7 separate regions of the Homo sapiens genome follow, and regions 1, 3, 4, 5, 6 and 7 are each linked to region 2. Evidence: promoter capture Hi-C in 16 types of primary human blood cells and fetal thymus (Javierre and others, 2016). All regions are on one chromosome and are shown on one strand. Each heading gives the region's core, a stretch centred on a gene start or on the middle of the fragment in contact. The rest is flanking DNA. Distances are from core to core; before and after follow the strand shown. Region 1 has its middle 28 kb from the start of EEF1E1-BLOC1S5. Region 2 holds the start of C6orf52 (chromosome 6 open reading frame 52). Region 3 overlaps SLC35B3 (solute carrier family 35 member B3). Region 4 has its middle 9.5 kb from the start of EEF1E1-BLOC1S5. Region 5 overlaps LOC100506207 (a long non-coding RNA gene). Region 6 overlaps BLOC1S5-TXNDC5 (BLOC1S5-TXNDC5 readthrough (NMD candidate)). Region 7 overlaps EEF1E1 (eukaryotic translation elongation factor 1 epsilon 1).

The links. The method cuts DNA at HindIII sites, captures the fragments that hold promoters and counts their contacts. A CHiCAGO score of 5 or more calls a contact.
Region 1: a contact is called between a fragment that was not itself captured here and the fragment with the promoter of C6orf52 in region 2, in 1 of 17 cell types (naive CD4 T cells). The highest score is 6.4, in naive CD4 T cells.
Region 3: a contact is called between a fragment that was not itself captured here and the fragment with the promoter of C6orf52 in region 2, in 1 of 17 cell types (non-activated CD4 T cells). The highest score is 5.4, in non-activated CD4 T cells.
Region 4: a contact is called between a fragment that was not itself captured here and the fragment with the promoter of C6orf52 in region 2, in 4 of 17 cell types (activated CD4 T cells, naive CD8 T cells, total CD4 T cells and 1 more). The highest score is 7.6, in activated CD4 T cells.
Region 5: a contact is called between a fragment that was not itself captured here and the fragment with the promoter of C6orf52 in region 2, in 2 of 17 cell types (naive CD8 T cells and activated CD4 T cells). The highest score is 9.0, in naive CD8 T cells.
Region 6: a fragment that was not itself captured here is called in contact with the fragment with the promoter of C6orf52 in region 2 in 1 of 17 cell types (non-activated CD4 T cells); the score reaches 5.9 in non-activated CD4 T cells.
Region 7: a contact is called between a fragment that was not itself captured here and the fragment with the promoter of C6orf52 in region 2, in 1 of 17 cell types (total CD4 T cells). The highest score is 6.6, in total CD4 T cells.

What each region holds. Positions count from the first base shown.
Region 1 is chr6:8,128,766-8,131,835 of GRCh38, forward strand. No RefSeq gene overlaps it. Among named protein-coding and RNA genes, the nearest start is that of EEF1E1-BLOC1S5, 28 kb to the left of the region's middle. RefSeq lists an enhancer at 2,577-2,626. The HindIII fragment of the contact is 1,330 bases long and covers 597-1,926 here.
Region 2 is chr6:10,692,640-10,696,008 of GRCh38, forward strand. C6orf52 (chromosome 6 open reading frame 52) reads right to left here and starts at 1,977. Exons shown (of 5, transcript NM_001145020.3): 1 at 1,855-1,977. It overlaps PAK1IP1 (PAK1 interacting protein 1), which reads left to right and starts at 2,333. Exons shown (of 10, transcript NM_017906.3): 1 at 2,333-2,430. The coding sequence starts at 2,347. RefSeq lists enhancers at 1,891-1,940, 1,949-2,551, 1,981-2,360. The HindIII fragment of the contact is 16,030 bases long and covers 1-3,369 here.
Region 3 is chr6:8,421,230-8,424,796 of GRCh38, forward strand. SLC35B3 (solute carrier family 35 member B3) reads right to left here. Exons shown (of 10, transcript NM_001370479.2): 4 at 1,241-1,395. Among named protein-coding and RNA genes, the nearest start is that of SLC35B3, 13 kb to the right of the region's middle. The HindIII fragment of the contact is 4,738 bases long and covers 1-3,567 here.
Region 4 is chr6:8,110,412-8,113,784 of GRCh38, forward strand. No RefSeq gene overlaps it. Among named protein-coding and RNA genes, the nearest start is that of EEF1E1-BLOC1S5, 9.5 kb to the left of the region's middle. The HindIII fragment of the contact is 3,104 bases long and covers 219-3,322 here.
Region 5 is chr6:8,440,067-8,443,610 of GRCh38, forward strand. All of the region lies in intron 2 of LOC100506207 (a long non-coding RNA gene), which reads left to right. Among named protein-coding and RNA genes, the nearest start is that of SLC35B3, 6.3 kb to the left of the region's middle. The HindIII fragment of the contact is 154 bases long and covers 2,127-2,280 here.
Region 6 is chr6:7,913,215-7,916,633 of GRCh38, forward strand. All of the region lies in intron 4 of BLOC1S5-TXNDC5 (BLOC1S5-TXNDC5 readthrough (NMD candidate)), which reads right to left. Among named protein-coding and RNA genes, the nearest start is that of TXNDC5, 4.1 kb to the left of the region's middle. The HindIII fragment of the contact is 5,683 bases long and covers 1-3,419 here.
Region 7 is chr6:8,090,666-8,094,098 of GRCh38, forward strand. All of the region lies in intron 2 of EEF1E1 (eukaryotic translation elongation factor 1 epsilon 1), which reads right to left. The region is part of intron 2 of EEF1E1-BLOC1S5 (EEF1E1-BLOC1S5 readthrough (NMD candidate)); the gene reads right to left. Among named protein-coding and RNA genes, the nearest start is that of EEF1E1, 10 kb to the right of the region's middle. The HindIII fragment of the contact is 8,691 bases long and covers 1-3,433 here.

The DNA.
Region 1 (3,070 bases), core at 12-2,511, 2.6 Mb before region 2:
AAAGGACTGGCACCAGGCCACTTTGAGCAGTGAAGTTGGTCTTCAGTAGTATTTGGTTCTTCCCATCAGTTTTTGAGTCTTATTCTTCTCTTTGTCCCAGTTGGCCAATGTCTTGCTGATCCAGATCCTGACAACAATGACAATGGGATGGGTCCACGCCTATCAGAACCAACACATACATAGTTCCAGTTTCTCATTATACTTTTTTTTTTTTTTTTTTTGAGGCAGAGTCTTCCTGTGTCGCCCAGGCTGGAGTGCAATGGTGCAATCTTGGCTCACTGCAACCTCTGCCTCCCAGGTTCAAGCAATTCTCTTGCCTCAGCCTCCCGAGTAGCTTGGACTACAGGCGCGTGCCACCACACCCGGCTAATTTTTTGTATTTTTAGTAGAGATGGGGTTTCACCGTGTTAGCCAGGATGTTTCATTTTACTTTAAATGTATCCAACCAAAGATCCATCCATCCACCCACCCACCCACTCACCCATCCATCCATCTATCGGTCCATCCGACAAACATTTATGGAGCAACTCCTACCTGCTAGGCAAATTCGAGGCATTGGGAAATGCTAGGAAATGGCATCATTTCTGTCTTCAAGAAGCTTGACATTGATATTGGGTTAATCCACAGGAAATGACACGAAATGCCGAGAAGTCTGGCATTTTGATAGGCTGCTAAGAGAGATATTTATGTCTTTTTCAGGGGCTATTTCAAAACCTTTACATGGTAACACGAAAAGCACCCTCTACTTATTTAAAGACATGATTTCTTATACAGGTATTTAAAAAGAGCATGAAGCTGGGACATTCTAAGAGCCAAGAAGTTAGGAAGGCAGTGAAAGGGGAGTAGGTATCGTGGATAAAAGTTAGAAGTTTAGGTAAAAATTGTGTGTCATAAGCTCTGCAGCTGGGACTTACCTGTCCTGCCCAAAACGAGCCAATAGTTGTGCACCAAGGCTCCTCAGCACAGCATGAGGACGAGGTGATGATCAGATCCTTCTTTCTGGCTGCAGGACCCAGGGTGCTATTGCTGCAGCTGGCGAGGATGATCACAGCACTGTCCAGACATCTCCAATGAGTAAGGCACCTGTCCGATGGTGCTGCAATGCTCATTCTATTTCCAGCAAGTTATTAGAAAAATGTGCGTAATCATTGTGTAAAATGCCAGCAGAGTTACCTTTGTGTGGTTTTTCTCACTTGAGATCTCAAAGTCAAGTCAAAATTCTTGAGGGGCTGTCCTTGTCCTTGGTAGCTGGATTCCCATCTCATTCAGTCCAATGTCTCCCACTACTTTCCAATGTGCAGCTTGGTTCTGTCAAGCTGCTCTCATTCTTCCTCACTAAAAATGACCGAATTCCCTTGGCCAGGTGTGGTAGCTCACACCTGTAATCCCAGCACTTTGGGAGGCCGAGGCGGGTGGATCATGAGATCATGAGATCAGGAGTTGGCGACCAGCCTGACCAACATGATGAAACCCTGCCTCTACTAAAAATACAAAAATTAGCCTGCAATCCCAGCTACTCAGGAGGCTGAGGCAGGAGAATTGCTTGAACCCAGGAGGTGGAGGTGAGCCAAGATCATGCCACTGCACTCCAGTTTGGGCAACAGAGTGAGACTCTGTCTCAAAAAAACAAAACAAAACAAAACAAAACAACCTCATTTCCACCTCGAGGCTTTCACTCCCCCTTCTCCCCCTTGATTAGTTACTTCTTTTTCCTTTCTCCCATACTTTTCTGGCTCCACTTAAAACTTCTTCAGTGAAGCATTCCAGAATTGCTTCACATCCTTTAATAACCTCTATTTCCCCCTGTGAATTTCCAGGCTACTGTGCACATAATTTGGATTACACAATTTAGTCTTTGATTACATATTGCATTGCAACGCTGGCTAGTTATTTTATGTGCTGGTGTGGTTAACTGATCGAGTAGGAAGCTTCCTGCTCCTTTCCTGCACATGTCCCGGCACCCAGCACAGTGCTGAGGATATAGTAGGTATCCAACGTTTGTACCAGTACATCTAGTATATACATTATTGCAGGTATGGATCCCAGCTTTTCAAAGTCTGAAGCTTATACAATTTGAAGAAGCCTTTTCCTGAAAGGAAAAGAAAAAGACTACAAGATGACGAATAAAAAATCAGGAGCCAAAATGAATATTTCGTGAATACATCGCCAAGGCCGCATTTTGGGGAAGAAGTCTTCACAGGAGAGAGACTCTGGAGCTCCAGCAGCTCTGAAATGGACAAATCTAGAGGTGTTTTTGGTCTTCACAATCCGTCTTCTCCATCTGTCACATACAAACTGAACATCAGGCCTCATTCTCTCTCCCAATGGCGAACCTTCCCTACCTTGGTAAACTGGCAAGGACCTCCCCTGATTTAGTCTGCGCCAGCTCATAGGACTGGGTGTGTAATTGCTAGGGAGGAAAATGGTGGTTGACAATTAAGCATCAACAGTGTCATTGATCTTTTGGGGAAGAGAAGAGGAGCTTGTAACAGCCAAAGTATCTACACATTTTTGTATTGTGTATTTATTCTATAAATGTATTTATGCCTTATATGGCATATGTCATTTAAACTGGAACAGGCAGAGTGTCAAGAGGCCAGGGCTGTATATTTATCATCTGAGCACGGTGCAGGGGGCTGAGCCATTTCCTCTCCATCTAAGCTGTTTTTTGGAATCTGACCAGCTGGTGTCACTATGGGACCGTGAATACAGGCATCTTCAGAGCTCTAGGAGTAGAAGAATTTTGGATTGGCGTTGTGGCCCTGGGAAAGGTAACCTTCCTCCCACCCAGCACGAGCCTCCGCCCGACCTCCTCTCTCCCTGTGCCTGCATAGTTTATAAAATTGAGAACTAGCGGACGGATTTAATTTTGATGGAGAATTACCTGTAGGCAAGAGGGCAATCAAACCCATACTGTTAAGGGGCGGGGGGACAAAGGTAATGAATCTGTTCTGTACGTTTAGCAAATGGAGAGTGTCAGGCTAATAATCCGTCAGCTCCTTTTTCCTATGCAATAAGCTTCCGTTACATCTTGTTAGGTACTACGAACTCAGCACTATCTATAAGGGGC
Region 2 (3,369 bases), core at 727-3,226:
CATGTTGGCCAGGATGGTCTCGATCTCTTGATCTCGTCAAAGTGCTGGGATTACAGGCATGCGTGAGCCACTGCGTCTGGCCATTTTATTTTATTTTTTGAGACAGAGTCCTGACCTCAAGCAATCCGCCTGCCTAGGCCTCGCAAAGTGCTGGGATTACAGGAGTGAGCCACCGTGCCCAGCCAAGAAAGATTTTGGAAGAGTGAATGAATACAAGGATTTCCACTAGACTGAGAATTAGTTTGTCAACAGCATTTCAGTGTCTTGAGAAGTGTTTACATTTGGCGTGGACAAAGCTGGCAGATGACGTAGAAAGTAAAAAGTTGCCTCTTCAAAGTTTCCCTTCTTGTTAAAGAATAAATCATAAATGTTAGAAACAATAGTTTCTTTTAAAGACTAACTTACTTCAAGCCTCCTTGCTTTGTGCTAATAACTCTGTTAAGCCCTATTGTATGTAACTGCGGGACATGCTCACAGGCCCAGGCACGTTCCAGCTCACAGCCTGTTTAGCAAATCGGGTATCAGTTTAAGATTATGAGGTCCAGCCCCAGCCAACGGATGCAGGACACAGCAGTAAGGACAACCCAAAGGCGTAAGGGACAAATATGTCTGCTTTTCCTTTGTTCAGGAGTGCTCTCACCATCGTTCCATCTGCAATTGAGCACCCTTTCTGCATAAAGTAAAAATTGCCTTGCTGAGAGATCTTTTGTCTCCATGCTGACTTTTCTTCGTGTCACCAATTATCTATTTCTAACAATAACAAGGTCTTTTCTGCACTGCAGTGACAACCAAAGCATCCCAAATGAAATCATTTCTGCAAGACCCAAACTAGCCTCTATTAACACGTACTAACAATTCAGAACACCAGAGAAGAAAAGTTATTGGAAACAAAAGGGTCTAAGCGCTGAAGCACTGTATCGCACTTGAAATGGAGGCTGAAGATTTGAGAAGGATGGACTATGCATCTTGTTTACCAAATGACCTACTACGGTGTTTATGAGAACTATACGAACCAAGATTTACTCTGTTGGGAGCTTGTAGGAAAGCTGTAATGTCTAAGACATACCTGAATCTCTAAACCTTATTAAATAAAACTTTTTTTTTCTTTGAAAGGGGGCCTGGCTCGTCCCCCAGACTGGAATGCAGTGGAGCGATCTCGGCTCACTGCAGCCTCGACCTCCTGGGCTCAAGCAATCCTCCCACCTCAGCCTTCCGAGTTGCTGAGGCCACAGGCGGGCGTCGCCATGCTGGGCTAATTTATAACATTTTTGTAGAGACGGCATCAAAATATGTTGCTCAGGCTCACTTTGTTTTCCCAACTCTCAAATGAAGGCTCTGGCCGGGCGCTGTGGCTCACGCCTGCAATCCCAGCAACTTTGGGAGGTCGAGGCAAGCGGATCACCTGCGGTCGGGAGTTCAAAACCAGCCTAGCCAACATGGAGAAACCCTGTCTCTACTAAAAAATACAAAATTAGCCAGGCGTGGTGGCGTATGCCTGTAATCCCAGCTACTCGGGAGGCTGAGGCAGGAGAATTGCTTGAACCCGGGAGGCAGAGGTTGCGGTGAGCCGAAATCGCGCCACCGGACTCCAGCCTGGGCAAAAAGAGCGAAACTCCGTCTCAAAAAAAAAAAAAAAAAAATGAAGGCTCACTGCTCCCTCCCCAGGAGGTGCCGCAACCTTGGCCAATACAGCCCCAGAGTTAGACAAGCAGACAGAGAAAGTGTGCAGGGCTGGGGTTCTGGCCCGGGCAGACGGGAACGCGGACACATCTAGCACTCCGAGTCCGTCAAGGCAGCGCGAGCGCTGCGCCGCTGGAACAAGTCACCGCGAACCCTAATCCCACCCCTCCTTACCCTATTAACGACAGAAAGCCTCGTTCCGCTGGTCCCTGAACAAAAACTCCTACCCTACTAGTACACAGCCCACAACAATGCACGCTGCCGGCGCTACAGCCCCTAAGCAACCGGCCGGAAGTCGGCCCCACCTCCTCCTGATGTCACGGAAATGAAGGGCTTCGCAGAGGATGTCCCGCCCGCTCCCTTCAGACGGGCGTAGCTGGCACCTTCCTGAGATATGCCTGCTTGCCCCCGATTTTTTTCTCCTTGCAGTGAGAACCTCCTCATGTGGCATCTTTACTTATTCTCTTCTTGGAAAATCCATGTGACCTCCCCGCGCTTAAAGTGTTTCCACGTTACAGGCGACTTAAAGGCAGCCCTGGAGCCTGACGTATAATTCGAGCGCCGATGCAGAAAGGAGTCAGGTGTTTTTTTTTTTTTTTTTTTGGTTTCCGGTTCTGTCACCTCCAGGCTGAGCCGGGCTGGCGGAAGAGGCACGTGCGCTGCTGAATGGAGCTGGTCGCTGGTTGCTACGAGCAGGTCCTCTTTGGGTTCGCTGTACACCCGGAGCCCGAGGCTTGCGGCGACCACGAGGTGAGATACCGCGTAGTTAGAGACAGTCGGAGGCGGGGCCGGGAAGGTCGGGTTTGGTTCCTACACAGCAGAGGTGAACATTGGAGCGCCTGCTGTTCACTGGATGATTTGATGAATCAAACCTAAGAGACTTAAGAGAAAAGCTAACCTTTTAAACCGTAGAATGGACATTTTATCAAAATGAGGCAATATCTGCCTTTTCTAGTAGACAAAAGGTCCACGGGACACAAAGGAAACCGGCATTTCTGCATACGGACAAATGAGTCGTAGATTGTGGATTTAAGGATCGATCCCATAAGTTGACAGTATTCAGAATTTAATGAAAGAAGATCTCGCTCTTTTGCTGAATTTCTGCCCTGGAATTTTACAAATTACTAGAACTAGATTAGGATAAATCCCTTATAGGTAAAGCGATACCAATTCATTATTTGTTGGGAACTTATGGCGAGCTGGGCGGTGGAGATGCAAAGATGCTGGAGGTATGGATCTTGCCTTAGAGACGTTGCCTACATAAGGGGTGGAGGACTGAGGAGACGCATAGATGGAGAGAAATTACAGCAGAATATGATATTACTAGATGTGTGAATAGATAAAAAGGTCAAATAAATTATCAGTAGTCAAATAGGTAGATAGGACTATACTCACGACTAGGAATCCGACCTCCTAACATCTAGCTCACTTTTATTCTTGAAGCAATTCTAAGCATTTTCTAGAAAATTGAGTACAGTACTTCTTTATGAAGTCAAGGCGTCGGTCTTTAATTATCCAGAAAATTTGGAAGTATATCACTTGGCCTATTGCTTTCGTTTATTTTGTTTCCTACTCCAGTTATTTGCTCTTTGTCTTTGGCTGAAAAGTGATGTGTTTTGAATAGTCAAAGATGATGCTATTTAATTTTTTTTTTTTGTAGTGAAATTACTTAACTGTGTTCCAGACACA
Region 3 (3,567 bases), core at 486-2,985, 2.3 Mb before region 2:
TTACATAACTGTTTAAGTTTGCAAATATCATAATGTGATAACTTCCAGGCAGGTGAAAATTAAATTATTTTCATATATCATTATTTTAAAAATAAAATGTAGTATGACTTTTTTGTAAGGTTTATAACGACAATATTATATATGCCTAGTCAGTTGGGACAATAAATGTGATTTTTAATAGGGATTGAGGTCAATTATTTTTTCCTATATGAAGTTATCCTGAAATGATACGTGAAGTAGTTGACAACACTTTCATTTTTAAAGGCTTATTCTGGGATGGTATCTAATGCATAAATGATATCAGGCTGTATAAGAACTTCAGTGATACAGAAACACCCGACTATTAAAACACGAATATTCCTCGTGACAATTAATGTGAACAACAGAAGCTACTTCCACTGTTTGTTGCTATCACTGCCTCCTCTTTTACTCGTATTTCCACAAAACTTGTCACTTAGCTGGGGCTCTAAACATCACTAAAGCCAGCAGGTTGGTAAAAACGCAGTTCTGCTCAGATTAAACTTTACTTCAATATGAGAACTGCCCATGCACAATGGAAGTGAAGGGTAGACCCCTGGAGAGTAGAAGAATGAAGGAACTGAAAAAAGGGACCTTTCCACGTACTTTTGAACTAGACCTTTAATACGTAAATATAGTATTGCTGGAAATGTGGTAGATTCCAAAATAAAATAATAAAAACAAAGTATTATCTTTTCTTTTTCTTAAGTCCAAATTACTGACTTCAGAAACTAAGGCATATAAGTGTTTGTTTGTTTGTTTGTTTGTTTGTTTTGAGATGGAGTCTCGCTCTGTCGCCCAGGCTGGAGTGCAGTGGTGTGACCTCGGCTCACTGCAACCTCTGCCTCCTGGGTTCAAGCAATTCGTCTGCCTCAGCCTCCCAAGTAGCTGAGACTACATGGATACACCACCATGCCTAGCTAATTTTTGTATTTTTAGTAGAGACAGGGTTTCACCATATTGGCCAGGCTGGTCTCGAACTCCTGACCTTGTGATCTGCCCACCTTGGCATCCCACAGTGCTGGGATTACAGGCGTGAGCCACTGTGCCTGGCCATCAGTGTTTTTAGAATACCTTATTTTGGTAAGACATAATTCAGAATTGTTACAATATCTAGAATGCTCATTGAAAATGTAATAGAAGTTTAATGTTTTTCCTAATGCTAGATGCCATAACATAGCCTATTAGTTTTAAATAGTATAAAAACATATCATTACTATACCTTGAATAAAAACTCCTCCTAGCATAACAGGAATCAATTTGCAGCACTTGAAGATGACTTGGGTAGGGTAATTCAGGTAGCCCAAGGAAGTGTTTGATAACCCCATAGTACCCACAGTTAGAAAAGCTATTATCATGTAGGTTTTTCCTGGTATTCTGTAAAAGACAATTTTTAAAACCTTCATTTTGGGACCCAATTCATACTACTAAAAGATAATGTGTTCACATTGTGTAAATGTCTAATTACTTTTCTAATTTCTGGTTACTATTTCTGGAAATATCAGTAAAAAATATCACTATTTAAAAACTGTAATGCTCTTGTATAAAAAAGTTTATAAAAATAACAATTTACCTTTATTTAGTCAATCATAAACGAGGCCACTCAATTATGTAAAAAAGAGTTTAGATTTTTACTGAAGGTATAAATGTTGACAAAAGGTTTTTTTTTTTTTTTTAACAGCAGTTCTAGCCACAAATAAAAACCATCTTAACCATCTTAAGTTAGAGAAAAAGAGCTTCTTTTGTTGTTGTTTGCTTGAGATAAGGTCTCGCTCTGTTGCCTAGGCTGGAGTGCAGTGGCATGATCTCAGCTAAGTGCAACCTCTGCCTCACGGGTTCAAGAAATTCTTTTGCCTCAGCCTCCTGAGTAGCTGGGACTACAGGTGTGCGCCACCATGCCCAGCTAATGTTGGCCTCCATAATGGTAAAAGGTACCTTAACATTTTAAAACTAATTTTTAACTCTTGAATTGTTGTTCTGTTTCCTAATGTTTCCATCTAGCATTAGGAAAAATACATCTATCCATTCTGCTAAAATAACCCAAGATTTTCTCTAGGAAAAGTTCATGTGATTTAAAACCCTAGATGTAATTTTTATTATAATATCTTATAGATCATCTCTCTATATTCTATGTTATAATAATCAACTTTTAAGATGAGGTATCTGACTCTCTCATGATTTCAAGTCTTTTAACTTTGGCTCTATCTAAAGTTCCTAAAGGAGATTCTTAATTTAGCATCTTCAGAATTTTGAGCCATTACTGTGAGCATATGCTCACTTTGACTAGATATTTAATGGTCTAAACTAATAATCTTGTCTACTGGTATGACGAACACAGACACAATCAGGCACTATTCATACTGATAATGCTGGAGAGTTAGATGTAATTTCCATTTTAGAATTTGTGTTCACATTGAAATCAAGGCAACAAAATTTCTCATCTTATATATGGTTAGATATAAGGTAAAATAATTTACTGGAAAAAGTCAATTAAAATGCATCATTTACATTCGATTCTGAGGGGTTTTTTTCTACTTAACTACTAATATAGTAGTTAACCATGAAAATCCACGTGGAAACAACTTGGCATGCCCATATGCATCAGTGTAAATGCGTTCATGCCATCCATGGGGTTTGACCCTCATTGGGATATCATCAGTGATGGTGGAGCACCACTTCGCCAGGTAAAATGATACAAGTCAAGGTGGTCAGATTTTCTCAAAGATAAATGGCAAATCATTGGCAGAAAATAAAAATTCAAGTCAGAAGAATTACAAGGAATGAGTAGAAAAGTAGCACAGTACAGGTAGAAAGAAAACCAGCCTGACAGGGGAACTAAATCCAAAAGTAGCTCCAAAAGGAGCTCAAAAAATTCTGAGCAGTCCTCTAGGTCTTTGTTTTCTCATTGGTATAATGAAGAAATTAGATTTGATCAGCTTGCCTCCAGGATACTCACTATTTCTATTTTATTTAATACATCAATTGCTTGCTTCCTTAGAAATGGGGAGAAAATTTTTTTTTTGAGACGGAGTCTCGCTCTTGTTGCCCAGGCTGGAGTGCAGTGGCGCCATCTTGGCTCACTGCAACCTCCGCCTCCCAGGTTCAAACCATTCTCCTGCCTCAGCCTCCTGACCTCCTGAGTAGCTAGGATTACAAGTGCCCGCCACCATGTCCAGCTAATTTTATATTTTTAGTAGAGACGGGGTTTCACCATGTTGGCCAGGCTGGTCTCGAACTCCTAACCTCAGGTGATCAACCTGCCTCGGCCTCCCAAAGTGCTAGGATTACAGGCGTGAGCCACTGCACCTGGCCGGGGAGAAAATTTTAACTTTAAAAACCTCTTCAAGACAAATCTGAGCACTCTCCTTAATTAGAAACTTATACTAATTAATAATAATGTTACAAGGTATTCTTTGATGAAAAATAATAAGCAGTATATTTAGGATATTACAGTTTATGATGTACTTTAGCACGCATTACCACATATGAGCCTCAAGATAAAATTTAGAGTATTATAGAAACTTCTCTGAGGTCTTGACAGATGTAATA
Region 4 (3,373 bases), core at 521-3,020, 2.6 Mb before region 2:
AAACAAACAAAGAATAGAAAGGAAGAAAAAAAAAAGAAAGAGAAACAAAGCTATATATAGGCTCAAGGACTAGCCATCCACATGCTGATGTTGAAGGGCCCCACGTGTTCCCATCTGTGACGGGGACTATTGGTTTCCTACCCAAAGCTATTTTCGTCTCCTTTTTACCATATAATAGAGCACAGCTTCAGTAATACTGCCAGGAAGTATAGGGGCAAAGCTTGTAAAACGAAGGTTGATAACTTTGGTCCCAAGTTGGTAACTTATTCTCTCATGGCCTTTCTCTGCTAATAATTTTTAAAATGGCTTTTAAAGAGTTATCTTAGAATCTTTTGTAAACTTCAGTTCACTTTAGACTTTTTCTTTCTCTATAACATTCATGTATGTATTAGTTATAGTTGTCTTGATAACAAGTAGTTCCACTGTCTCAGAGGCTTAGCACATAGAACACTCATGCCATGGTTCAATGTGGGTCTCTGATTGCCAGTCACTTGGGAACTCAGACTTCCAGTCTAGTGATTTCATCATCCTCTAAGGCTTCAAAGTCCCTTTCTGGGCCCTAGGCTCTTGTCATTTGAACTATAGATGAGGCAAGAGGGAGACCGTTGAGGACTACACTAGGTATTATGGGCTAGGTCTGAAAATGTTGCACATCATTTCTGTCCAGATCTCATTGGCTGAAACTCAGTCAGGAAGACACACCTGGCTAAAGGGAGGCTGAGTGAAGTGATCTGATCCGTCAGTCTGCTTGTTATTCTGCACCTGTGCCCCAGTTTTATTCCCATTCTCCTTGGCCCTGCTCTTTGACACAGAAGACTGAGTCTGTGGATGACATTACCCAGAGTCTCCTACCTTCTGGCTTCCAGATAGGTTCAGTGTGAGAGGCACAGTTAAGAGATTGGAGAGCATGAGTTTGGAGTATTTATTGCCTTTCTCCCTTCCTGCATTTGGCTGTGCAGTAGAGTCTGACTCCGTTTGTGATGTTTGACTGTTCACAGCATTTAGGCCTCCATCCACCCTTGCCCTGCCCACCATCATACATCTGGGACTTCATGTAAGGAACTCCCCACCCCAAGCTCCTGACCTCTTGATGTTTGAACCCCACAGCTTCATGACAGCTTGCACCTGCCCTTCCCCAGAAGTGCTCTGTGTGTTAGTAATAGACTTTCTTTCTTACCCTCTTGGTGCATGAAGGAGGGTCATTAGTCTCCATATCTGATCTATTGATTGGGAGGAAGTCTGTACCCTATTGGTGGAATGACCAGAAAACAGGCTGTGTTATCTGAGAGCAGTTGGTAACCTAGAAGTGGTAATGGCTTTCTATTCTCGCTAGTCCCTGGGCACCTCAACTTCCCGGATTGATTTTCTTAATCCTTTCCATGCTTCTATATCTAGTCCTTTCTTTAGAGCCTCTTGAAACATCAGAGTTAGATTCTGTTTCCTGCAGGAAACCTGATGGATATGGGAAGAAGAGGGAAGTGGTCTGGTGAGCATTTAGTCAGTTGCTGCAACATTATGATCAGTGCCAATTTTTAAGTTTAATCCTTGGCTTTCAGCGAATGTGGATATATATGGTCAACATTATTTGTCTTATATAAATGCACTAGCATATATAATACATATACTGATGAAAGTAGATGGACTTTTATGAGGAACTTTAGTAGATGAGGGTCTTTTTCACATTGAAAAATTTTGCTTTCAGGCTTTTTTTGAGATTAAAATGGCATTTGAACATTGGGATGAAGACTACTCATCTGAAACTGGGCTTTGGCTAACTGGGCACAAACATGCTTTATATAAATTTTCACTGTAGGGTCCAAAGTAGTTCTTTTTTTATTTTTTTATTTTTTGGGGACAGGGTCTTACTCTGTGGCCCAGGCTGGAGTGCAGTGTCACAGTCTCGGCTCAGTGCAGCCTCTGCCTCCCAAGTTCAAGCAATTCTTCCACCTCAGCCTCCCGAGTAGCTGGGATTACAGGGCCATGCCACCACACCCAGCTAATTTTTGCATTTTTAGTAGAGACGGGGTTTCACCATGTTGTCCAGGCTGATCTCGAACTCCTGACCTCAGGTGATCCAGCCCCCCCCAAACCCCCTTCAGGCTCCCAAAGTGTGGGATTACAGGCATGAGCCACCACTCTCAGCCGGCCCAAAGTAATTTTCAGTGAAGGGGTACTGCTGTAAAAATGAGTCTGCAAACTAGATGCCCTTCCTCCTCCAATTCATCCTGCTGAGATGCACATAGATGTGTGTGTCTTAGAATCAGCTGATGCTGGGAATAGGTCCCTTGTTATTAAGGAGGAAGATGCCAAGGGAGTCAGGAGGAGAGAGGTGTGTTCCTACAGTGCTGCGTGGAATTCTGCAGATGACCTAGCTGCTCCTGTCTTACTGTCAGTTTCTGCAGTCAAATCAGGCAGTTGTAACTTGCGTTTCTCTACTTTCTTTGATTTCATATCAAGCATCCTGCAAATTGGTGGGCATTTTTCAAATTCCCTTAAAGTTTGTGAACAAGCATCTCCAAGGAGCACTTGCCATCTCTGTGCCTGATTTGTGTATGCTCACTGGCTTGCAGCTTTTCCCAGGTTCTCTGGTGTTAAATTAATAACAAATGATGTAGAGCTGACAGGCAGGTGAAACTGGGGAGAACCATGATATTAAAAAAAAATCTCAGTCTATTATGTAGCACAATGTGCAACACTTCGTCAGATTTTGCCTGCAGGTATCTTAATTTTGCTTAAATATTTTGCTCATATCTTTTTAACCCAGAAGATGGGAACGTAGCCCTTAACATCTCTCAAGCAGACTGTGTAGCATATGTTAGTGTGATACAGAATACCAAACTCTGCCAGCTATTTGGCATTCTTTGAAAAGGCACTAGATAAAATAAAAATAAAGAAGATAAAAATACTTTCATGGTGGAGGAATTGTCTGATTCCCACTCGAAGTTATAAGGCGCATATTTTGGATCAATATAAACATTATTTTCTCACAGACAGAGCTATCCAACTGTGACTGCCTCAAAGTTAGAGTACTCTTTGTCATTGCAAGTATTTAAGAAATTGGAGATCATCTGCCAAGATTCTTTGGAAATGATTCGTTGCAAGTATGCAAAATATTGGAAGAATACTTTGCAGTTTTAAACTACATACATTCAATCTGCTTTACATATTAAATTTCAATGTAATCTTTTAAAAATACTATGGAAAATTAATATACACACAAGTAGGGATAATAACATAATGAACCCTTATTACTGATTACCCAATTTCAGCAATGAGAACATTTATTTTAAAGAACAGTGCCACTGCTAAAAACAAATTTAGAAGCTTCTGGATTGGATGATGCCTGAAGTCCCCCAAATTCTATTTTATGGGC
Region 5 (3,544 bases), core at 954-3,453, 2.3 Mb before region 2:
TAAATTCTCTAAGTCTCAATCTCCCCATCTGTGAAATGGGAATGACAGTAGTACCTATGTGGTAAATTGTAGTGATGAGTAAGTGAAAGATGTTTAAAGATGGTTAAATGGTTAGCACAACACCTATTACCTGACAAACACTTAGTAAAAGTTAGCTATTAATATTCTTATTAATATAGCCTACTATCATTAGAATAATCCATTTATATATAGTCATCAGTTGTCACTTTTCTAGCTCTTCCATAAGGAATAGGTTATATAGCATTTCCAAACTAGGAAGTTCATTGATAGATATATGGTTCCAGATGCACTGAGCAGAAAAACTAGTTAATTTGATTTTCATTAAATATCCATTTAATAAATACTTATTGAGCACTTACTCTGCATGCTACTGGGTATTGTGGATATGTGGATGACAAGACAGACATGGATCCCTGCCCTCACAAAGCTCACAGCCTTGTGTGGTGGAGATAATTAATTACACAAGTAATTATAGTGTGATTTGTGTTGATAAGGGTATTAACTACAGGATGCAATGGGAGCTATAGGCTATGCTAATGAGGCTGTGGTTATAGATTCAGTTCCCCTGTAGGTTGCTTGACTTCCAGGGCTATCAGTTTTTCTCTGCTGTCTCCTAAATGGATAGAGGTTCACAGAACTGGGCCACCTGGACACCAGCCATGACTCCTCTTCTTTCCCAGTACTGATAATTGGCATGGGGCAAAATTCTTCATAAAGAGGTAGCATGTGTAATGAGATGGAGAAATATTTTGCTCGTTTAACACCTGGCTTTTGAATCCCTTTTTGGTCAAAGTTTCTGTGTTTTGTTTTCTTTTTGTAAGAAGTAATTCGATTAGCCTCTTAGAAGATTATTCTTAAACTGCCTTCCATGGAGGGTTAGTCTTATTAACATGAAGTTCTTTTTATTTCCAGAACAGTGCTGTCCAATAGGAATATAATATAAGCCATGGAAGCTACTTTAAATTTTCTGCTAGTTACATTAAAAAGGTGAAATGAGGCCGGGTGTGGTGGCTCATGCCTCTAATCCCAGCACTTTGGGAGGCCAAGGCAGGCGAATCACTTGAGGTCAGGAGTTCAAGACCAGCCTGGCCAACATGGTGAAACCCCATCTCTACTAAAAATAAAAAAAAATTAACAGGGCGTGGTGGCGGGCACCTGTAATCCCAGCTGCTCAGGAGGCTGAGGCAGGAGAATGGCTTGAACCAGCGAGGCAGAGGTTCCAGTGAGCTGAGATCATGCCACTGCAGTCCAGCCTGGGCAACAGAGTGAGTCTCTGTCTCAAAAAAAAAAAAAAAAAAGGTGATATTAATTTTAATAATATATTTATTTAACTCAATATAACCAAAATATTATCATTTCAACATGCAATCAATATAAAAAGTTGTTAATGAAATACTTTAACATCTGTTTTTTTATACAAAATCTTGGAAATCCAGTGTGTATTTCACACTTCCAGCATATTTTGGTTTGGACCAGCCACATTTCAAGTGCTCAGAGTAGCACATATGACTACTATCTACCACTCAGGACAATGGAATTTTAGAGCACTTTAATTCTTGTTCACCACTTGGAAGGTGATGAAGTTTAAAGTGCTAGAGAAAATCCAGGCTGGGCGCAGTGGCTCACATTGCCTGTAATCCCAGTACTTTGGAAGGTCAAGGCAGGCAGATCTCTTGATTCCAGGAGTTCAAGACCAGTCTGGGTAACATGGCAAAACCCTGCCTCTAGAAAACAAACAAACAAACAAAACAAAAATAAAATCAGCTGAGTGTGGTGATGCATGCCCATAGTCCCAGCTACTCAGGAGGCTGAGGTGGGAGGATCCCTTGAGCTTGGGAGGCGGAGGTTGCAGTGATCCCAGATCACACCACTGCACTCCAGCCTGGGTGACAGAGTGAGACCTGTCTCAAAAAAAAAAAAAAGAAAAAAGAAGGAAAGAAAGAAAGAACAAACAAATGAAGGAGGGAGAGAATAAAGGGAATCACCAGTGTGGTATGGCTGAGAAGGGAGCTTTTGGGAGACTATAGGTTCTGTATCTAACTGGAGTATTTAAGTTGTTTTATGGAGGCTGTGATTTATAATTCCACCACTTCATATTCTTAAAAAGCTTCAGTAAATCTGCATTGTTCATTAATGCCCTGCATAGGTGCATTATTTCAGATGAATTTAAAGAAGGCTAAATTCTGTGGCCAGGTGGGTGTGGAGTAAAAATAAAGATGGCTCCCAGGGATGTAGGAGCAAGTGGGTGGGAACTGCTAAAGCTTGTTTTTACGTAAGATAAGCATTTAACTTCCTCCACTCCTCTACTGTGAAGTCTTGAAGGGTTTATGTCACTAATTGTTCAACCTAAATAAACATTTATTAGGCCTGTTCTCTACAGCTGCAATTAGAACTTTTGAGAACCAGCTGCATTTTGCAACTTTGTTCTTTCTTGACTTCTGTACTGCTGCACTGACTGGTTCTCCTACCTCACTGTTCCTTGTCCTGTCCTCAAAATGTTCATGTTTCAGTCTCTGTTTTCCTGATCTTTTGTATAAACTCCTCTTCAGGAAATCAATTTAATTTAAGATTACGGACTTGTCCTCTATATCTGTGTAATTAACTGCTCACCTATGCTTTATTCTCATTTTTCAAACTGCTTGTTAGCGACATTGGATGCAGTGATATAACCCTGTAGTCATCCTAAGTGTGAACTCAGTTTCTTTCACAAATCAGTATTTTCCCTCCTCCTTTCTTTTCCTTTCAATAAAACTCTAATTATTTGTTATCACTATTTCTTTTTCTCCGTCCTTTCTAGAGGTTGAGTATCTCTTATGTGAAATGTATGGGACCAGAAGTGTTTCACAGATTTTAGATTTTTTAAAAATTTTGGAATATTTGCATATACATAATAAGATATCTTGAGGCTGGGGCCCAAGTCTAAACACAAAATTCATTTATGCCTTATAAATACCTTATACACATAGCCTGAAGGTAATTTTAAACAATATTTTTAATAGCTTTGTACATGAAACGAAGTTTGTGTTAAGTACTTATGTGTGGAATTTCCCACTTGTGATATTATGTCAGTGCTCAAAAGTTTTGGATTTTGGAGCATTTCAGATTTCAGATTTTCAGATTAGGGATGTTTAATTGTATTAGTTTACTTTGGTCCGTCTTGTGTATATAAGTAACTGTATTAGCTTTCTATTGCTGCTATAACAAATTACCACAAGCTTAGTGGCTTGAAGACCACACAGTTTTTTTATTTTACAGTTCTATAGGACAGAATTTCAAAGTGGGTTTTGGGTGGGTACAGTGGCTCATGCCTATAATCGTAGAGCTTTGGGAGGCTGAGGTGGGAGGATAGCTTGAGGACAATAGTTTGAGATCAGCCTGAGTAGCATAGAGAGTAGAGTAGAGTAACATCTCTACTAAATACATACATACATACATTACATACAAACATAATGAGCCTCACTGGGATGTAATCAAATGGTCAACAGTGCTGCATTCCTTTTGAAGCGGCTATGTTGTCTGGGGT
Region 6 (3,419 bases), core at 246-2,745, 2.8 Mb before region 2:
ACTGACACTGCTCCTCCTCTCCTCTCCCCACCCCACCCTGTCAGTCGCCATCCTCTCAGCTGCCAGCTTTATCTCATGTTTCTGAGAAAAATGAAGCCAAAAGCATGAGCTCCCTTATCCCTCCCCCGCCAAATCTACACACCCCTGCACAGGCGCCTTTCCCTCTGCCCACAAAGGAGCAAGTCAGTATATCCCTGCCTAGCAAAGCCCAGTCCTCCAGAATAATGCCCCTCACGGATAACCAGGTCCTAATTCCTGAAACATCTGATTGTTTCTTTATATGGCAGAAGGCTTTGCAGGTGTGATTAAATTAAGGGTCGTGAGCTGGAGAGATTACCCTGGATTATCTCGGTGGGTCCTAAATGTGATCACAAGTGTCCTCATAACAGAGGGGCAGTAGGAAATTTGACTACACAGCCGGAGGCGACGTAACAAAAGCAGAAAGAGATTTGAAGATGTTAAACTGCTGGTTTGGAAGATGAAGGGGCCAAGAGCCAGGAAAAGCAGCTCTAGATGCTGGAAAAAGCAAGGAAATAGACTCCCCCTCAGAGCCTCTGGAGGGACCTGCAGTCCTGTGGACAATTTATAGTCCAGTGCAACTGGTTTTGGACTTCTGACCTCCAAAACTGTAAGAGAATAAACGTACGTGGTTTTATGCCACCAAGAGTGTGGTGTTACAGCAGCCCTAGGAATCTCATATGCCCTCCCTGCTCCCTGCTCAAAGGCTTTGTTCTTCAGCTCCTCTCTTTCTCTCCTGCACAAGTTACTCATCACTCCTTCCTACTGGACCATTTTCATCAGTGTATAAGCAAAAAAAAAAAAAAAATTATCTGTATTTCACTTTCCATTCATCCTTCAGCTCATGCCACTCTGACTCTCAAACCTGCCACACACCAAGTCTTCTCAAAGTCACTGAAGATGTCCACATTGACAAGTCAAATGAACACTTTATGTTCCTCATCTTCCTGGGCTTCTCAGCAGCGTTGGTACAACTGCCATTGGCCCCATCTGCATCCACCGTCCTTTCTGCTTCTCTGATCTACCTCCTACCATCCCCACGTCACTCCTCAGTCTCTTCAACCCAACCTTTGATGTCAGTTTTCAGCGCTCAGCCTCCAACCCACTTTTGTTTCTCTGCATCACTCCCTAGGTGATCTCATCCATAGCCATGGCTTTAACACCATCTATATGCTGCTGCCAAAGTGTACATTTGCAGCCGAGGCCTCTCTCTGAGCTCTCACTATCTACAGGATGCCTCCTCTTGTTTGTCCTGCAGGTGTGCTGAAGCTGACCTTGTGCTTCCCTGCAGCAATCTGCTTGTCCTCCGATTTCCCCTCCTCAGTAAATAGTTCTTCCTCGCTGTTGCACAAACCAGAAACCTGAGTTGCAAACTTTGTCTCAGACTCCTGGCCTCAAGTGATCTGCCTGCCTCAGGCTCCCAGAGTGCTGGGATTACAGGTGTGAGCCACCACCCCCGACCTCTGAGTTGTAAACTTTGTTACCCTTTTTCTTTATTGCAGTGCCTTGATCCCCGCCTCCTACTCGATCTCCCCATCAGCAAGTCCAATCATTGCCATCTCTGAGCCACAGCTCCCACTGACTGATATCTCTCCACTGCTGCCATATCCTTCTCTTCCTGTCTGCTACAGTAGCCTCCTGAATGTTGTTTCCACTCTTAAGTCCTTCCCATCCATCCTTCATCCAGCAGCTAGAATTGAATCGTGTCACTCCTTTGCTTAACTTCCTTCAGGGGCTTCCCTTCACATACAGTCAAATTCCAGCTCTTTGCCTTGGCTTGCAAGGGCCTTCAGGAAAGATGCAATCTCAACCCATACCACTCTGCCCTCTGCTCGCCTAGATTCTAGCCATTAGGGATGATTCTAGATACCCTCCCAGCATTCCCCTTCTCAGGCCCTTGTGTGTGGTGCCCTGTGCTTGTTCCCTTCCTGTCTTCTGTGACTGGACTCCCTGCACCCTCAGGTCTCTTGCCCCCACGCCACCTCCTCAGTGCCTGGCGATTGCCTTTCCACATTGACAAGTCAAAGCCCCTCTCTGCAGCAGCCTCCCTCTGCCCACTGAGCTCTCACCAGTGCCATGCTGTTTAATTTCTGCATAACACTTTTTGTCATTTGATGCCATTTTGTTGCAGACTTAGCTGGTTAAGGTGGCCGTCTTCTCCATCAATAAGCTCCCCGAAGGCCAGGGGCTATTTGCCACATTCACTTCTCTCTCCCTAGCACCCAAATGCCTGGATACAGTTGAGGCTCAACAAGTGTTGGATGAAGGAACCCCTCTTTCTAACCACATCTCTTTCCCAGGCTCCACCAAAACAAACTGACTCACTGTGCCTGGCACCTTCTCTCACATGCGGCCTTTCCTGCATGACCCGGCCACCCCTCCACACAGGCTGCTCAGCGTCACTTCCTCTGAACTCCCAGCCCTCCCAAGGGACTGACATGTTGCTTCATATGGTAGCAGCCACACATGGTCCTGCTTAGATTCCCATCGCCAAGCAGCGTGGCTTCCAGCTCAGAAAGCCTAAAAGTGAAGATACAACTGAATTTGTGTACAGCGATGAAATAATACAATGTTCTCAGTAAAAAATTCCCTGACCTCCAGCTGGGGTTAGGCTTCCTGCACTAATATCTTGTCCTTTCTCCCCATATCCCTTCACAGAAGGGTAATTATTTGGTTGTGTGAATTTTGTTTAGCCTCGGACTTTCCCTCTAAACTGTAAGCCCCATGGCCTGAGAGGTGTTTACGTGATGTCTGGTACACAGCAGGCATTTAATACCTGATATGGTTTGGCTGTGTCCCCACCCAAATTTCATCTTGAATTGTAACTCCCACAATTCCCATGTGTTGTGGGAGGAACCCGGTGGGAGGTGATTGAATCATGGGGACAAGGTCTTTCCTGCACTGTTCTCATGATAGTGAATGAGTCTCATGAGATCTGATGGTTTTAAAAAGGGGAGACTTCCTTCATAAGCTCTCTTCTCTTGTCTGCTGCCATGTGAGACGTGCCTTTCACCTGCCATGATTGGGATGCCTCCCCGGCCACTTGGAATTATAAGTCCAGTAAACCTCTTTCTTTTGGAAATTGCCCAATCTCAGGTATGTCTTTATCAGCAGCGCAAAAACAGACTAATACGATACCTGTTTGTTGAATGAATGCATGAAGGAATGGATGAAAAGTCACATTTGTCTACCCTCAGAGGATGGCTTGCTTGAGAGAGACCCCCCTCAAAATCATGGCCTTTCCCAAGCAGAAAAGGCAATAGGTATGTTGGTCTGTATTGTTAGAAGTTAGTACTACTTCTAGCAAAATAGTATTGCTACACTGCCTTCTTTTTTTGAGACAGATTCTTACTCTGTCACCCAGGCTGGAGTGCAATGGCATGCTCTTGGCTCACTGCAAC
Region 7 (3,433 bases), core at 374-2,873, 2.6 Mb before region 2:
GAAACTCTATATCCATGAAACAATAATTCACCCATTTCCCCTTGCCTCTAGGTCCTGGCAACCACGATTCTACCTTGTTTCTATGAATGTGACTACTTTAGATACCTCATATAAGTGCAGTCATAGACTATATGTACTTTTGTGACTGGCTTGTTTCACTGAATGTAAAGTTCCTCCATGTAGCATGCAGCACATGTCAGGATTTCCTTCTTTTTTAGGGCTGCATAATATTCCACTGTATGTACAGATCATATTTTATCGATTCCTGTGTCTATAGACATAGTTGTTTCCACTTCTTGGCTACTGTAATGCTGCTGTGAACAGGAGCGTACAAACATCTCTTCAAAACCATGCTTTGAATTCTTTTGGGTATATACTTACAAGTACAATTGCTGGACCATATGGTAATTCCATTAATTTCTTGAGGAAGTGCTATTCCTGCTTTTCATAGCAGTTGCACATTTTACATTCCCACCAACAATGCACAAGGGTTACAATTTCTTCATATCCTCACCAACACATGTTGTGTTGCTCTGTGGGATTTTTTTTGGTAGTAGCCATCCTAATGGGTGTGAGATGATATCTCACTGTAAACATGATCTACATTTCCCTAATGATTAGTGATTCCAGCATCTTTTCATATGCTTGCTGGCCACTGGTATATCTTCTTTGGCTAAATGTATACTAAAGTCCTTTGCCACTTTTGAAATCAGGATATTGGGTTTGTTTGTTGCTGAGCTGTAGGAGTTCTTCACATATTCTGAATATTAACCCCTTAACAAACATATGATTTACAAATATTTTCTCCTACTCTATGGGCTGCCTTTTCACTCTGTTGTCTCCTTTGATTGTGTCCAGAAATGTTTAATTTTGACATAGTCCAATTTATCTATTTTTACTTTTGTTAGAGGTATTTTCTGGCAGAACAGCATGAATACGTCAATTTCCTGAGATGGAAAATGTTGGCTTCTCTTAAAATTAACACTTAATTTAGCAGAACAGGAATTTACATTGAATTATAGTCAATTAAGTGAAACAACAGATTCATAAAACCTTCAGAGAAAGGTTTTGTAAATGAGTTATATGAACTATTATTAAATATTCTTTGAGGCTCCTCTAAGGACTAGATATAAAAAACTGTCCAGTGATGAACAGCATTTATTCTAGAAGAATTCCTTAAACTATAGAGAGGGCATTTTGTTCCGATTCTCAAATCACATCTGTCTTAGTCCACTTGGGCAACTATAATAGAATACATAGACTGGGTGGCATGTAAACAAAAGAGATTTATTCCTCACAGTTCTGGAGGCTGGAAGTCTAAGATGAAGGTGATGGCAGATGCAGTGTCTGGTAAGGGCTTGCTTCCTGGTTCACAGGCAGCTGTCTTTTCACTTGGTGGAAGGGGTGAGGTCTCTCTCAGGCCTTTTATTAGGGCAATAATTCCATTCATGAAGGCTCTGCCTCCAGGACCTAATCACCCCCAAAGACCCCACCTCCTAACTCCATAACTTTGGGGGTTAGAATTTTAACATATAAATTTGGGGAGGGGGAGTCAACCATTCAGACCATAGCAACATCCCAAAGTATCTGGAATATAGTGGTTCAGCAATCAGTAAAAAATGTTTGCAGAATATAGTGGTTCAGCAATCAATAAAAAATGTTTGCAGAATTGAATTTAATCTCTTTGAGTTTGCAAACAAAGTTAACATGATACATACTCAACATGAAGATAATGATGAAGACCTTTATGATAATCTACTTCCACTTAATAAAGAGTAAACACATTTTCTCTGACGATTTTCATTTAAAGACAGTCAGTCATTTTCAAAATGGTATATGAATATGAGCCCCTAAAGGTGGTACAGATAAGAACATAAAGGAATATGGACACAAATGAGACAGGCATGGAAGAATCAAAATAAAATTTGGCTGGAAAGGGTAGAATGTATTGGTATATTAGGGACTACCACTTAAATTTTATGGTACTCTGTTGAATGGAGATGATTTCTCTCCAAATATCTTCAGAGAAATCAACTTTGAGAAAGTACAAGAAATAAAATATCTTCATTAAATTTCAAATAAAATAAATACATCTTCATTTAATTTCAAGAAGTATTTAAAGACCTGAAACAATAACAGTTTTGTATATTTTTTCCAAAAACAGAATCTATATCCGTGTTTTGTGTTTTAGTGATAAAGACTGCTTTTTTTTTTTTTTTTTTTTTTTGAGATGGAGTCTCACTCTGTTGCCCAGGCTGGAGTACAGTGGCGTGATCTGGGCTCACCACAACCTCTGCCTCCAGGGTTCAAGCGATTCTCCTGCCTCAGCCTCCTGAGTAGCTGGGACTACAGGCACACAACATGACTGGCTAATTTTTTGTATTTTTAGTGGAGACAGCGGTTTCACTATGTTGGCCAGGCTGGTCTCAAACTCCTGACCTCGTGATCAGCCTGCCTCGGCCTCCCAAAGTGCTGGGATTACAGGCGTGAGCCACCGTGCCCGGCCAAGACTCTTAAAAATGTAGTTTTTATAAACTATGATTAGGTAATATTTTCTGGGTTCATGATATAAATAAAATCTTTACTACCAAAAGACAGAGTTTCACACACATTCAAAATATTCACAGATGAGAACTAATTATGTCTGACATTCGCTTCCTTTTTTTTTTTTTTTTTTTACAATTCTTTCTGATGCCATTGTCAAACTGTTAAATACTTCCCCTACAATTCCACCTGATTTTTCTTTTTCCTTCCATCTATTAAATTTTCTAATAATACAAAAAAGTTGAAAAAGCAGTAAAATAAACAACTATATACCCTCCATCTAGACTCAACAAATGTTAGTGTTTTGTAATGCCTGCTTTTTGAAATTATATACTACCTTATTTATGAGGCATTTAAACTTAGCATTGTGGTTTTATGGTTTTACCACTGAAATGGCACTTTGACAAATAAGAATTAAACCCTTTCATAATATCCTAAAAGGAAGAGTTTTAAAAATAAATAATAAAAACCTATACAGCCCAGTACAAACACAGGCAAGGAATACATGTAAGTGAATTTTTAAAAATAATAAAATAGCTAATAAGCAGTATGAAAACGACACATTAATAATTGTATTAAAAAAAAAAGCAAATAATTTTTTTTTTTGAGACACAGCCTCGCTCTGTTGCCCAGACTGGAGTACAGTGGAGTGACCCTGGCTCACTGCAACCTCCGCCTCCCAGGTTCAAGTGATTCTCCTGCCTCAGCCTCCTGAGTAGCTGGGACTACAGGTGCGTGCCATCACGCCCAGCTAATTTTTCTGTTTTTAGCAGAGATGGGGGTTCCACCATGTTGGCCAGGCTGATCTCGGACTCCTAACCTCAAGTGATCTGCCTGCCTCGGCCTTCCAAAGTGCTGGGATTTCAGGCGTGAGCCACCGCATGCGGCC